Linked DNA regions of Homo sapiens: region 1 is linked to region 2. Evidence: promoter capture Hi-C in 16 types of primary human blood cells and fetal thymus (Javierre and others, 2016). All regions are on one chromosome and are shown on one strand. The core of a region is centred on a gene start or on the middle of the fragment in contact, and the rest is flanking DNA. Distances in the headings are between cores, read along the strand shown. Region 1 overlaps THOC5 (THO complex subunit 5). Region 2 holds the start of RASL10A (RAS like family 10 member A).

Region 1 (7,672 bases), core at 484-2,983, 210 kb after region 2:
TGGGAAGCAGATAAATATACATTTGTATAAAAGCTTCCAGGTGCAAAGAATCTTTCTAAAAAATACATAAGAAGTCTGTAATAATGGTTGCCCTTGGAGGTGAGACCTAGGACTGGTATATAGGAACCTGTGGTGAGAGGGAAACTTAAATTTTACTGTTAGCTCTTCTACTGCTAGAACATTTTATTATATGGTACTTTTTCATACAAACCAACTTCAAAACATATACTCTGCAGAATACAAAGTTCTACTTACATTTATTAAACATGTTGGTCTTACTAAAAACCTGTATACTTTTGCAACTTGTTCTAGATATTTGACTTGCTAGATTCAGAAAGAGGTATAGTTTTCTCAAGCTTCTGCCTTATGTGACTGGAGTTTTGTTGCTATGTTGTTACGGTTATGATTTAACAAAAAGAAACAAAGTCCATGCAAAACAATAAGGAAAAACAAAGCAATATGAAATGGGAATCCTTTGTTGGGCAAATGGGTGTTTGGCTCCCGGACCCTCTGCACCTGCAGCTGGGTGAACTCTTAGGTGCTACAGATCCCTTAAACAAGGTGAGTGCAACCAGACCTTTGCACTTCAGGTCGAGCATGACAGACAGTGGGTGCCTCTTCAGCATCTCCTTGCGTTTGTCGTCCAACTGAACCCCCAGTGTGGGTCTCCGGCGCTTCTGGACAAAGGAAAGTGCCAAGCTGATGAGCATCAGTCATAGCAATCTCCCCTTCCCTCTCCCAACCAGCCAGGCCTCAGCCCTACTGCCTGGCACCTGCTGCTTCAGCTAGCTGGGTTGTCAGACTCCCCTCCCAGCAGCACCTTCTTTCACACCTCTTCTGCTTCTAGGGAGGACGGCACCTGCGAACAAGCATGCCCCAGTGCATGCAGCTGCTTGATGCCCCCACAAGAGGAAATGGTTCTCACCGTAGTCTGCTCCTCCTCGGCATCTGAGTCACTCTCGTCATCTGCAGCCACAGAGAGAAGGCAGCTAGAGGTGAGGGGGCTCCAAATGCTCCCTAAAGCACTCCAACCCACATGGCATAAAGGGGCCCTGACTCTGTCTTTTGTAAATAAGTTTCTCTGTAATAAATAATAAATTAACTTGCTGCTTCTTATTCAGTATACAAAACATGGTGATGAAAAAAGAAAAAAGAAGAATGACGTATAACTCATTTTTTTCAAAGGGCTTTTTGATGTCATTTAGATGGAACACAAGCCCCTCCTTGTGATGGTGGTGGTGGCTGTGGTAATAATAGTAACACAAATAATAATAATAGTAGTAGAAGCATGCATAACTTGAGGGGGTACTATGTGCTGAGAATTATGCTAAAGGCTGTATGTGCATTACCTTATTTAATCCACATAACAATCCTACATGAGGTGTTACTATCTGTTTTCACAAAGGAATAAACTGAGGCTCTGAAATATTAAATACCTTCCTCGGGGTCAGTCAGCTAGTGAGTGGCAGGGCTGAAATCCACGGGCCGCACCTTGTGACTCCGGGAAGTGAGCTCTCTTTCCTGTCTACTCCAGGGTGCTAAGACATTCAAGTCAAGCTTCCTGCTACACAGAACTAGTCCAGCTAGTTCTCCAAAGACCAGGACTGCCCTTGGATGGTGACCTGGTGTCCCTGGGGGACGAATCCCAACCACCACATTACCTTGGGAGTCCTCTGGAGGTTTGAACAGAGCCTTGGCTTCATCCACACTGCCTTCGATTGCCACAGATAACGTCTTATCTGGGGGGCAAGAAGAAGTCTGTTAGGAAAGCTGCTGAGGAAAGCTGCTAAGCAGTGTGAGTAGGCCAGCTCTGGGGCTGCATTTCTCCCACCTCTGCCCAGCTCCTTGCTGACTAAGGGTGGAAGGGCAAAAGTCCTTGCTCCAGATGAAGGGAAACAAGGTGGGACACTTAAGCTTTTTTTTCCGTCATTTACTGAGAACAGAGAACTTAAGTACAAATTCCTAAACCAGCATCACCTGAAACTAGCAGTGAATGCCTCTCTTTTTTGGTGCACACCAAAGCACAGAAATTCAAACTGAGGGCCTAAAGCCACATGGAACTCCTCTGCCAGTTGTCTTAGAGGTTCTCACCCAGAAATCCACACCTGTCCACATCCCAGAAACAATGACTCTCACCTAAGTGCTTATTCTCTATTCTACACTATACCAAGCACATGGCTGCCATTGTCTCACTTAACTGGGAGGCAGTAGGACAGTGAATAGGAACTTGGATCTTGCAGTCCAGTTCCAGACCTGAGTCCCTGCCTAACCAATTCTCAAACACATGACCTGGAAAGTTATGTCACTGTCTGAGCCTCAGTTTCTGTATCTATGAAAAGGGGACTTGAAAAATAGTAGCTGCCGGGTGCAGTGGCTCACACCTGTAATCTCAGCACTTTGGGAGGCCGAGGCAGGTGGATCACCTGAGGTCAGGAGTTCAGAGACCAGCCTGGCCAACATGGCAAAATCCCGTCTGTACTAAAAATACAAAAATTAGCTGTGTGTGGTGGCATGTGCCTGTAACCCCATCTACTTGGGAGGCTGAGACAGGAGAATTGCTTGAATCCAGGAGGTGGAGGTTACTGTGAACCAAGATCATGCTACTGCACTGCAGCCTGGGCAACAGAGTGAGACTCTGTCTCAAAAAAAAAAGAAAAAAGAAAAACAGTAGCTGCCCCATTAGTGGTGGGGACTGAATGAGCTGATGCTTGTAATTTTAATTATAAAATTATTAAAAATTAATTTTTAGGCTGGGTGTGGTGGCTCATGTCTGGTTGGGAGGCCAAGGTGAGTGGATCACCTGAGATCAGGAGTTCGAGACCAGCCTGGCCAACATGGTGAAACTCTGTCTCTACTAAATATATAAAAATTAGCCAGGCACGGTGGTGGGTGCCTGTAATCCCAGCTACTTGGGAGGCTGAGGCAGGGAGAATTGCTTGAACCTGGGAAGCAGAGGTTGCAGTGAGCCAAGATCATGCCACTGCACTCCAGCCTGGGCAACAGAGCCAGACTCCATCTCAAAAAAAAAAATTTTTTTTAATACTCACAACAACCCTACAGGAGTAATACATTATAGCCATTTATAGATGAGAAACTTAAGGCTCAGAGAAGCTAGACATCACAGCTATAAGGCTGATAAACCAGGATTCAAGACCAGGTCTGTTCAACTTAAGCTTGGCCTCTCCAGCACATGAGCTAACAGCCTGTTGCATACACCAGGTATGACACCTCATTGAGTGATGTCTTGAGACCCCCTCTGAGGGTCTAGCGTTGTGAGGTCAGACAGGCCACCACCGTCCAACTCCATTCTTAAGGGTACATATGGTCCCAAGAGCCTGAAACGGTTTGCCTAGCCACACTAAGGAGGGATGGCAAACTTCCCCCAAGTGGCTGACCACTGCCTTATCTATGGCAACCCTATGTGAATCACCACCCTTCACCCCAAGCAACTAGTTGCTCCCATCAAGCACTGGCAAACAACAGACTATTTTTTTCAGCCATTTAATATTAGCATTCTACAAGAACATCAGAATGGAACAGGCCGATTTTAAACATAAAAGAAAAGAAAATTACTCACCCTGTCTAGGGGGCTGGGAGGATTTCATATGAGCTGATGATGGAAACAGGAGGGAGAACAAAGGGGAGGGGAGGACCAGAAGGACGAGGAAGACACAAGAAGAGACAGTAATGTGTTGGTGCCCAAGGTGGGAGGAGAAGCAAGCACTGGTGCGGTGTATGTCTGTCTGATGAGGTGGGGTGGGGTGGGGGAGAAAATGTAGGTGCTGGGTGAAAGCTGCATTAGGGCAAAAGGCAGAGTCTCCAAAATTTTCTCAAAACCCTAGCAGAGTCACAGGCTGCCCTCAAGCTTAATGAGGACATATCATCTAACCTGGAAATTCACAACAAAGACATGCAGCCTGATTCAAGGCATGGTGAAAGCCTGGGAGAGCTGGCTGAGACCTGTATTCACCAGGCACCCCCACCCTGAAGCAGAGCAAGAGGCACTGATCTAACTGCCAAGCGTGCCTTGATGGGGTGAGCACCTGGGAGCCCAGACAGGCTGCCTGGGTTCTGCACCCAAGAGCTGTCCAGCCAGGCTCACGAATGACTCAAAGCCACCCATTGTGAAATACCCATCAGGTTAATCCAGCCTTAGGCCAGCTGGTCAGAGCAGCCATGCTGGGCAATGCAGAGGGAAGAAAGCTTCTGTCACCTGAGGGCTTCGGGCAGGACTGAGAAATTTCCTGAGCAGGTACTGCTTCCAACTGATTCACTCGGCCACAGCTGCTGCTCCCATAGCCCCTTGTCCTCACCCAGGCCCCATACTCACCACAGGCCTGCCCATACGCAGTGGCCTGAACAAAGAGGACATAGAGGGGAGGCGGCAGGTGTCTGGCTGTCTCATACTGCTTGTGAGCCTGGTCGAATGGCATAAACAGGTACTCCTGCACCGGAAGGGAAGCCTGCACACAAGAGACAGATTTTTGTTCTTCCTTTTTTAGCCAGTCCACACAGGAAAAAGTGGCTACTTAGTGACCGTAAATCATTATTTATAAAAGTGATACATGATAAACTAATAGAACTAATAGGTGGATAAAAGCTCAACGTAAACAAAATTATATTTCTTTATACTAGCAACAAACAGTAAGGAAATAAAATTGTTTTATTTTACCTACTGTCAGGGCACCCTGGCTCATGCCCATAGTCCCAGCACTTTGGGAGGCTGAGGCAGGAGGATCACTTGAGGCCAGGAGTTCAAGAGCAGCCTGGGTAACTTAGCGAGATGCCATTTCCACAAAAAATAAAAATCAATTTAAAAAAAGAAATTATAAAAAGATGCCATTTCAATACCATCAATAAAACATCAAATAAGAATAAACAGGCCGGGCATAGTGGCTCACGCCTGTAATCTCAGCACTTTGGGAGGCTGAGGCAGATGGATCACCTGAGGTCGGGAGATCAAGACCAGCCTGACGGACACAGAGAACCCCGTCTCTACTAAAAAAAATACAAAATTAGCTGGGCGTGGTGGCATATGCCTGTAATCCCAGCTACTCGGGAGGCTGAGGCAGGAGCATCACTTGAATCCAGGAAGTGGAGGTTGCGGTGAGCCGAGATCATGCCATTGCACTCCAGCCTGGGCAACAAGAGCAAAACTCTGTCTCAAAAAACAAACAAAAAATAATAAACAAGCAGGCTGGGTGCAGTGGCTCATGCCTGTAATCCCAGCACTTTGGGAGGCCGAGGCAGGTGGATCACCTGAGGTCAGGAGTTTGAGACCAGCCTGGCCAACATGGTGAAACCCAATCTCTGCTATAAATACAAAAATTGGCCAAGTGTGGGGGCACGCACCTGTAATCCCAGCTACTCCAGAGGCTGAGGCAGAAGAATTACTTGAACCTGGGAGACGGAGGTTGCAGTGAGCCAAGATTGTACCACTGCACTCCAGCCTGGGCAAGAGAGCAAGACCCTGCCTCAAAATAAAACAAAATAAAATAAACAAATGAAAGGCATATAAGCCTCTACACAAAAACCTGAGAAATGAAAAGTCTAAAATAAGTGGATACATGTGAATGTCAATGGCCTGGAAGACTCAAATATTGTCCAGGTAACAATTTATTCTAAAGTGGTCTGCAGATTCAATGCAATCCCTGTCAAAATCCCAGCAGGTGAAAACAGACAACCTGATTCTGAAACTTGTATGTAAATGCAAAGGGCCAAGAATAACCAAGACAATCCTGAAGAAATAGGTTGGAACTGTGCATCGAGACTTCTGATAAAGCCACAGTAAATAAGACAGTGTGATACTGTGCAAGGATGGACACAGAGATTATACACATATCCACATGTACAAAGACATTTGATTTGTAACAAAAGTGGCACTACAGAGCAGTGGAAAGAGAATGTCTTCAATAAATGGTCAGCTAAATACCTATGTGGAAAGAAAAAATGAATCTTTACCCTTAACTAACAAAATCACTTCCAGGATGACAACAGATTTAAATAGAAAGATTTCTTAAACAAGACACAAAAAAAGTACTAACCATAAAGGAAAAGAATAATTAGTAAAATTAGGAACATGCACTCATTAAAAGATACCATTAGCAAAGTGAAAAGGCAGGAGGTTACAGAATGGGGAAGACCTGGGAAAAAACTCATCTCCAGGCAACCCAACAGAAAACAGGCAAAAGACTTGCCTAGACCCATCACAAGAGGTTATCCAAAAGGCAAAATGTGCTGTGTTCAACATCACTAGTCCTCAGGGAAATAAAAATTAAAACTATAATGAGATACCCTCCAGAGTAGCCAAAATTAAGGAGACTGACAGTATAAAGTGTTGACAAGGATGTAAAACAATTAGAACTTGCATATGGTGCTGGTGGGAATTTCTGTAAATCGGTACAACCAGTTTAGAAAACTGTTTCAGTGTCTACAAAAGCTAAATATATGTATAACATACTGTATGACCTAGAATTTCATTCCTGGGTATATATTCAACAGACAGATGTACACATGTATGCCAAAACACATGTATAAGAATGCTCATAGCAGCATTATTGAAATGGCCCTAAACCGGAAACAACCAATTACTAAACATCAATGAAAACAAACTCTTGTACTCACAATAGCACAGATGAATCTTAGAAACATACTGCTGAACAAAAGAAGCCAGACATAGGAGTATATACTATGATTCTCTTTGTATAGAGTTCAAAAATAGGCAAAACTAACCTATGATGTTAAGATGTCAAGATTATGGTTACTGGGGTGTGAGGGAAGATAGGGACTGCGAGGGGGAATAAAGGAGCTTCCAGGAAATTGTTAATGTTCTTTCTCTGGGATTTTGGGTGCTGGTTATACAGATGTGTTTGCTTAGTGAATATTCATTGAGCCATACACTTGCGAGTTACATGCTTTTCTGTATAAAAAACTCTGTTTTAAAGTAATATATGGTACACTGTTTTTAAAAGTTGTATTCAAGACCTTAGGCAATGAATTCAGGTTTTGTTTCAGAGATTTTATTTGTGTGCTTTTCTTCTGTTTTTTTTTTTCTTTTTTTTCTTGACTCGGGAAAGACTGAACTAGATCGCCTTGAGTTTCAAGTTTGCAGATTCTGCACAGTGCATGAGGACCAATTGTACAATATATAAAGTAAAATAAAAAGCATTTTAGGCTGGGTGTGGTGGCTCACGCCTGTAATCCCAGCACTTTGGGAGGCCGAGGCGGGCAGATCACAAGGTCAGGAGATCGAGACCATCCTGGCTAACATGGTGAAACCCCGTCTCTACTAAAAATACAAAACAAAAAATTAGCTGGGCATGGTGGCAGGCGCTTGTAGTTCTAGCTACTCAGGAGGCTGAGGCAGGAGAATGGCGTGAACCCAGGAGGCAGAGCTTGCAGTGAGCCAAGATTGCGCCACTGCACTCCAGCCTGGGTGATAGAGCGAGACTCTGTCTCAAAAAAAAAAAAAAAAAAAAGCATTTTAGGCCGGGTGTGGGGGCTCATGCCTATAATCCCAGTACTTTGCCGAGGCAGGCAGATCACCTGAGGTTAGGAGTTCAAGACTAGCCTGGCCAACATGATGAAACCCCATCTCTACTAAAAATACAAAAATTAGCCAGGTGTGGTGGTGGGTGCCTGTAAACCCAGCTACTCAGGAGGCAGAGCAGGA
Region 2 (6,625 bases), core at 1,707-4,206:
ACCTGTGGCCCAGCAGAGCCTCTGACAGTAAAGTTTTGCTCCAGCCACCTGTCTGTTTCTTGGGGACTCCACCTTGGGGCCATTCAGACCCTTTCGAGGACCCTGGAGTTAACTGCCTGGAGGCCAAGCCTGGCAACTCTGACCTCTAGGCTTAAGGCGTTATCCCGCCCAGCCCAGAAATCCCAGGCGCACTCAAATTATTTTCCCTTTTATTATCCCGTGGTAGGTGTGGCATAAAGAATATGTCCAGTGAAGCTCCAGGAGCAGGCTGCGTGTTTCCAGTCAAGTTCATAGCCAAGTCCTTTCCATCCAATGGGATTGTGACCCATTGAGGTCCCAGAAAGGACTGGTCATCTCCAATGGAGCTTGGGACCTGGTTGGGTCCAATGAGGTTCAAAAGGGGGCCAGTCGCTTAGGAGACTGGGTTGGAGCTTTCCTCATCCAATCAGGGCGGAGACTTCCCTGTCCAGTCCCAGTGAAGTTGGGCGATCCCGTCCAATCCAGGTCCCTGATTGTCCCAGTCACAAGGTGGGGCCCATGGATGGCACTGTCCGATCGGGTCACATGAGGCTGCAGCGCGCGGGATGCAGCGCCCCCTGCAGGCGCAGGGCCGGGTGTGCAGGGCGCGCGCGCACCAGAGCGCAGCGCAGCAGCTCGCGGAAGAGACGCAGCACGTGCCAGTTGTACTTGGCGGAGCACTCGAGGTAGCCGCAGCGCCAGCCCCTGCGCACTAGGGCGGCCAGCGCGCGCCGCGGTCCGAAGCGCAGCCGCTGCCTGTCCCGCTTGTTGCCTACCACGAGGATGGGCGCTTCGGGCGCGCCCGCCGGCCTGGGGGCCGAATGGAGATGAGAGACGCGGGGACCCCACGGCCGGAGAATTCCCCCAGTGGGTATACACACGCAGGCGCATTCCCTTCCTACGGCCAGAGACACCGCCCCCCCCGCCGCCCCAACGAAACCCCAGGCCCATGTGGGCCAAAGAGCACATACAGCTTAAGACCTTCCCACGGGCGAAGGCCTAAGACCCGGCCCACGACGTTGGGAGACCCTACACACTCTCCTCAGGCAAAGGCCCTGCCAGACCTGTCCTAGCTCCCCACCGCCAGAACTGCCGGGCCCCTACCTGGTCTCCGCGATGCGCTGCCGCAGGGCCTTCACGTAGTCGAAACTGTCCGGGCTGCAGATGTCGTAGACGAGCACGAAGGCGTCCGTGTCCTGCAAGCTCCAGTCCTTAGCGTCTGGCCACTCCTGGGGACAGGAGGCCAGGGTTTGCGGAAGCCTCCTTTCCACTCTTCCGCTCTCGAACCCTCTGCAGGGGCCTGGACGCTAATCCTCAGGCCAACATCACCCCCATACAGACCTCTGTGCCCCTCCCCCAAGCTTTCCGGGCCGTCTCCTCATGACCACCAGGGTAAAATTTTCCAAATCGTGCCTGGAGCCTGTCAGCCAGCCTCCTTCATCCTTGGTCTCCCCTCTGTTTACCCCGAATCTTCCTCTTTTCAGCTTTCCCCAACTCGGCTCAGGCCGCTCTCCTCCCTAGATGCTCTCGGTGCTTACCACGGCCTCTAAGACTAATTCCAAAGCCCTTGGCCCGAGTCCCGTGGTCCACCACGCCCCCAGATTGTCAGCTGTAACCGTTTATGACCGTAGCGTAAGCACCTGCTGGTCTTTCCACCTGGTATGTTTTTGCCACTTCCTTTACTCAGAACTTCACTCGGTCTTCCAGGTTCAGCTCAAATGCCACTCCCTCCAGGAAGCCCTGCTTAATCCTGCCTGCTCTTTCCTCTTCACTGCTCTAGGGTCGGAGGTCTGTCCTTTACTTTGCACAAATTACTAAACGAGTCTTCGCTCCAGGGGACAAAAATGATAGGGCAGAGAATGAACCCCTCCACCAGCCCCCGTAGAAAGTACACCCCTGCTCCTGACCCCAGTCTCTCCCATTGTAGCTCTGCTCAAGGCCCCAAACACAAAACGCCACACTCTCGGGAAGGCACCGTTATGCACCACCAAGAGCTGCTCCACACCCCCAGCCGAGGCAGGCAAAGGTGGAGGCGCTCACAGGAGCAAGGGAACGCCCCTGGGCAAAATCGCCCGGCCTCCAGCCTGGGCTTGGGCGTCTCCAGGTCGGCGGGAAGGGCTGAAACGCAAGTATCCCAGGACGCACACACATCCCTCCATCCCGGAGCACAGCCAGGCGCCCGAGGCCTCCACGCGGACACGCACGTGTGCACCGAGCACGCACACCCCTCACACTGTCACACGCCCCTGCCCGCTCCTCGAGCCGCTACCTCCGGACCCCCGGGGCTCGAGCCGGGGCCAGCGACGTCGCCGTCGCGGATGCTCAAGTCGTAGACGGCGCCGTCGAGCAGCACCGCGGGTCGGTAGAGGCGCGGCCCGTCCGTGGGCCGGTGGCGCTCGGGGTAGTCACCGAACAGGAACTGGCGGATGATGGCCGTCTTGCCCACGCCCGGGGCGCCTAGAACGGCCACCCGCAGGCTACCCCCCATGGCCGGCCGGCGCTGTCGCTCCCCGCGCTGGAAAGCCTCATGGGCCGGCGCCGCACCGTGCGCCCCCAGGCCGTGCGCCCCGCGCGCCCTGCCCGGTGCGCCACGGCCCCGTCGCGCTTCTCGTCGCCCCTCGGAGCACCGAGACCGGAGAGGGCAGGCCCGAGGCAGGAGCTGGCGGCGGGAGGGCAGACAGACAGCCGAGTGGGCAGACAGGTGGCGGGCGCGCGAGCGGCTCGGGCGGGTGCCGAAGCTCGAGAGAGAGCAGAGCCGGAGCGGCGCTCAGACACCGCCTCCGCCCCGCAGCGCCAACCCAGGCGCCGGCGGACGCGCGAGGCGCCGAAGTCCGCCCCTCTCGCGGCGCGGGTCCCGCAGCGGTGCGGGGCGCGGGGGGCAGCGCTGCCTCCCGGAGCCTCTGTGCCTCTATCCTTCTCTCGCTTCCGCGCCTGGAGTCGCCGCCCCAGCCGCCGGCGCGAGCGAGCGGGGCCTCCCGGAGGCGGCGATGAGGTAACCGCCCGCCCCTCCCACCTTCCCCCACCGCCCAGGACGCCCCTCCCAGGAAGGGTCGCAGGAAGGTGACTGGGGGACAGAGATCCCGGAGAGGGCCTACCCCTTCCTTACCTCCTCCGCGTGTCCCGCTCCTCTCACCCGCTCCAAAATAGAAGCCCCTTCCCACCCACTGCCGCGGCCGCTCTTCCAAACACTGCTCGCCCCCACGCTGGCTCCCGACAAGCCCCGGCCCCCGGAGTCAGGCCGCCCGGGGTCCGAATTGGGGGGGGCGGCTGTGTGACCTTGGGCGAATCGCCGCACTGCGCTGGGTCTGCGCTCCGCATCCATCACAGGCAGACTCCTCAAGAGGCTCCAACCTTTTCTTGAGAGCCTACTATGTGCCAGGCCCATTACCTACGTGATTCTCGAACCTACAGCCTCAGCCTGGCATCGCTGGTTGAGAGAAGAGGAAACAGGCCCGAGAGGGGAATCTGCAAGGTTAGAAGGGCAGTGGGGGGGCCCTTGAAGTCTCCTTTGAAGTCCCTCCTACCTTCCTCCTGCCCACGGGGGTAAATGGCCCACACTAGACAATATTCAAACAGCCGTCCTCGAGGGGAAGTGGGGACAGAGGGTGCCGAGACCACAGCAGCTTAGCCCCAGATCCCTGTCCCAGCAAGGCTGGAGGTGACTAAATAAAGATCCAGAAATTGGCCCACTCCACCTCCATCACTACTAAGGTCACCTTTCCTGCGTGAGTTGCAACCCGTAGCGCCCCTCAAAGGGATGCAACCTCCAAAACAGGCGCCCAGAGCCCAAGTTCCCCCTCCCTCGAGCTAGTGGAGAAGCTCCTGCCCCATCACAGCTTGGAAAGCCTGGGTTAGCCCAGCCCCCCCATCCTCCGCCTCTGCTCTCCTCCCCGCTGTGTGGGGGCTCCCACGTCTCTGACCTGCACATGGCAATGCTCAAGAAATGGCGGCAATGCTCAAGAAATGGCCGCAATGCACAGATCTCTGCACTGACTAAGGAGTTCATTTATTTATCCCCTCAACAAATATTCCAAATCTTATTGCTTGTCAGGAGGCTGAGATAGATTTAAAAAACAGAAAACAGGAAAAAAAAAAAAAGTTCTGCTTTGGGAGAGAAGGTTCTAGAACACATGGGATCTAGGGACTGTCAAAGCACAGACAATGTGCCCACACCAGCCCAGGGGAAGTAGAGGAGCTAAATCCTGAAGGGGGAGGAGGCACATCCTCCAGGGAGCCTGTATAATGACAACCAGAAAGTGTCTCCAGAACAATGGCTGTGCTTTCATCCTCCCATGCTAGATCGGGGGCTGGGGTCCGCTTTCACTCCTCTCCTCAGCCACTAGGAAGCTCAGAACCACCTCTGTCTAGTGTTCCAGGTCTTCTAGCTCAGTGAGTGGGGACTGCTGGCTTCATCTTTCTTTCCTACCATGATTTTTCCCTTCACTTGATGTCCTCTTTCACGTTGTAACTTTTCAGACTTCTGGGTTTTGTTGTTTGAGACAAGGTCTTGCTCTGTCACCCAAGCTGGAGTGCAGTGGTGTGATCTTAGCTCACTGCATCCTCAACCTCCTGGGTTCAAGTGATCCTCCTTGCCTCAGTCTCTCAAATAGCTGGGACTGCAGGTGTGTACTACGACATCCAGCTGATTTATTTTTATTTTTTGTAGAGGTGGAATCTCACTATGTTGCCCAGGCTGGTCTTGAACTCCTGGCTTAAGCAATCCTCCCTCCTCAGCCTCCAAAAGTGCGAGGATTACAGGCGTGAGCCACCACATCTGGCCAAACTTCTGGGTTTTTGACTTTTCAGGCTTCTGGGTTTTGTGAGCTGCTTCAATTCCTTCGGGGAACAAGGCAAGGAGTAAATAACAAGGCACTCAGCAACACAACAACAAAACCCAGAAGTCTGAAAAGCTGACACCAGGACGGTCTTTTGTTTGTTTGTTTTGAGATGGAGTCTCGGTCTGTCACCCAGGCTGGAGTGCAGTGGTGCGATCTTGGCTCACTGCAACCTCCACCTCCTGGGTTCAAGCAATTCTCCTGTCTCAGCCTCTAGAGTAGCTGGGACTACAGGCACATGCCACCATGCCCGGCTAATTTTTGTGTTTTTTAGTAGAGACGGGGTTTCACCATATTGGTCAGGCTGGTCTCGAACTGCTGACCTCAGGTGATCCACCCGCCTCAGCCTCCCAAAGTGCTGGGGTTTCAGGCATGAGCCACTGCGCCCGGCCAGGACGGTCTTTTTTAAGGTGTTCTCAATGCTAGGCGCACTCCCGCCCACCCCTGGGTATTCTTTCTCTGAAAAACTTTCCTTGCTTCTCCTTCCGACACTGCAAACAGAGCTGTGTGTGAGGCGTCTCTGGCTCCCAGTATGTGTTTTTGGATGGCGAGGGGAAGGGGCACTGTGGACTGGGAACGTCCTGAGGCTCCCATGAAGCCCTGCAAACGTGCCATGTTCCCTAGGAGACTCTCACAGCAGCGTTCCTAGCAGCAGTGCCCATTTATCAAGGGCCTGCGATGTGCCAAGCCTGACCCACAGCCTCATGCTCACTAAGGCTCCCTGGGACGCCATGATTGGGCCACAGTTGCCTAGCAGGAAAATGGCAGCACAGGGGCCGGAACCCAGGCCCTTGGGCTCCAGAGCCTGGCTGAGAAGCCTGGCTTCATCTGGACCCAGAGGGTTCTCAGGAAGTACTCAACTGAAGCTCAGCCCCCAGTGACCACTCAGCCCCCTGTCGGGAGGGACTTGGGGAGGCCTCTAGGTCCCGTGGAGCCCCCCATCCACAGGGGCTGAAATGAGCTCTAATGGGAGTGTGCAGCCCTGTGCCAGGCTTCCTAAAGACCAGCAGGCTGGGGGGCTGAAGCTGCCTGTCTGCCTGGGATGTGGATTTCAGGGTTCTCTCATCAGTCCCCTCATTCCTTCCCCAAGGAAAGGCTGTAGGCCTCCTGCCTGCTGCCCCCCTCCAATCCCTATTCCCCAGGGGCCTCCTGGGCACTCCTTGAATGCCCCTATCCAGGGCTCCAGGGACCACCTGCCAACTATGCATGCATCTTCTCCTTCAGCAGAGGGGACTGGCACTAGGCACACAGTGGCCAAGGTGGTCCTGCCTACCCTCTGTGGCAGGGAGAAAGAGACAGACATGCAGCTAGGCAGGGACGGGTGAAGACAGGAGCTCTGGGCTGGTTCAGGCCTGGGGAGATGAGGAGGCCTAGGGTAAGCACCAGTCCAGCGGGAGTTGAGGGGCTTATACTGAGCCCTGAAGGATCAAGCCACAGATAGTGGGGAGGGCTGGGCAGGGGCAGGCACCAGGTGGGGAATTCTGCTTTCCCCAGTTCATTGCCCACAGGCTCCTAACACCAGCTACCTGGCCTTCACCCATGTGTTTCTTCCCAACTGGGCCTGATTCCAGCCCATCCCTGAAGTCAGGCACCCAAGACTGCATCCAGCTCCCAGGGGGTGTTAGTTCTGGACTCCTTTGCTAGGCCACACCAGTCACCACTAATTATGGTCTGTCCTGGCCACGAATCATGGCTCCACACCACCAGTAACTCACCTCCTGGACCCACGAATGGAGGGATCCTCCACAGCTCACATGCTTGGGGTGTAGTGG

The links. Contacts are between HindIII fragments. The CHiCAGO score rates a contact against its expected background, and 5 or more counts as called.
Region 1: a fragment that was not itself captured here is called in contact with the fragment with the promoter of RASL10A in region 2 in 1 of 17 cell types (naive B cells); the score reaches 5.3 in naive B cells.

What each region holds. Positions count from the first base shown.
Region 1 is chr22:29,527,501-29,535,172 of GRCh38, forward strand. It overlaps THOC5 (THO complex subunit 5), which reads right to left. Exons shown (of 20, transcript NM_003678.5): 8 at 4,331-4,463; 9 at 1,662-1,739; 10 at 926-966; 11 at 578-677. Among named protein-coding and RNA genes, the nearest start is that of THOC5, 22 kb to the right of the region's middle. The HindIII fragment of the contact is 357 bases long and covers 1,556-1,912 here.
Region 2 is chr22:29,312,741-29,319,365 of GRCh38, forward strand. RASL10A (RAS like family 10 member A) reads right to left here and starts at 2,957. Exons shown (of 3, transcript NM_006477.5): 1 at 2,288-2,957; 2 at 1,123-1,247; 3 at 193-828. The coding sequence starts at 2,506. The coding sequence ends at 561. It overlaps GAS2L1 (growth arrest specific 2 like 1), which reads left to right. Exons shown (of 6, transcript NM_001362985.3): 6 at 1-47. RefSeq lists enhancers at 1,344-2,148, 2,149-2,953. The HindIII fragment of the contact is 16,106 bases long and covers 1,378-6,625 here.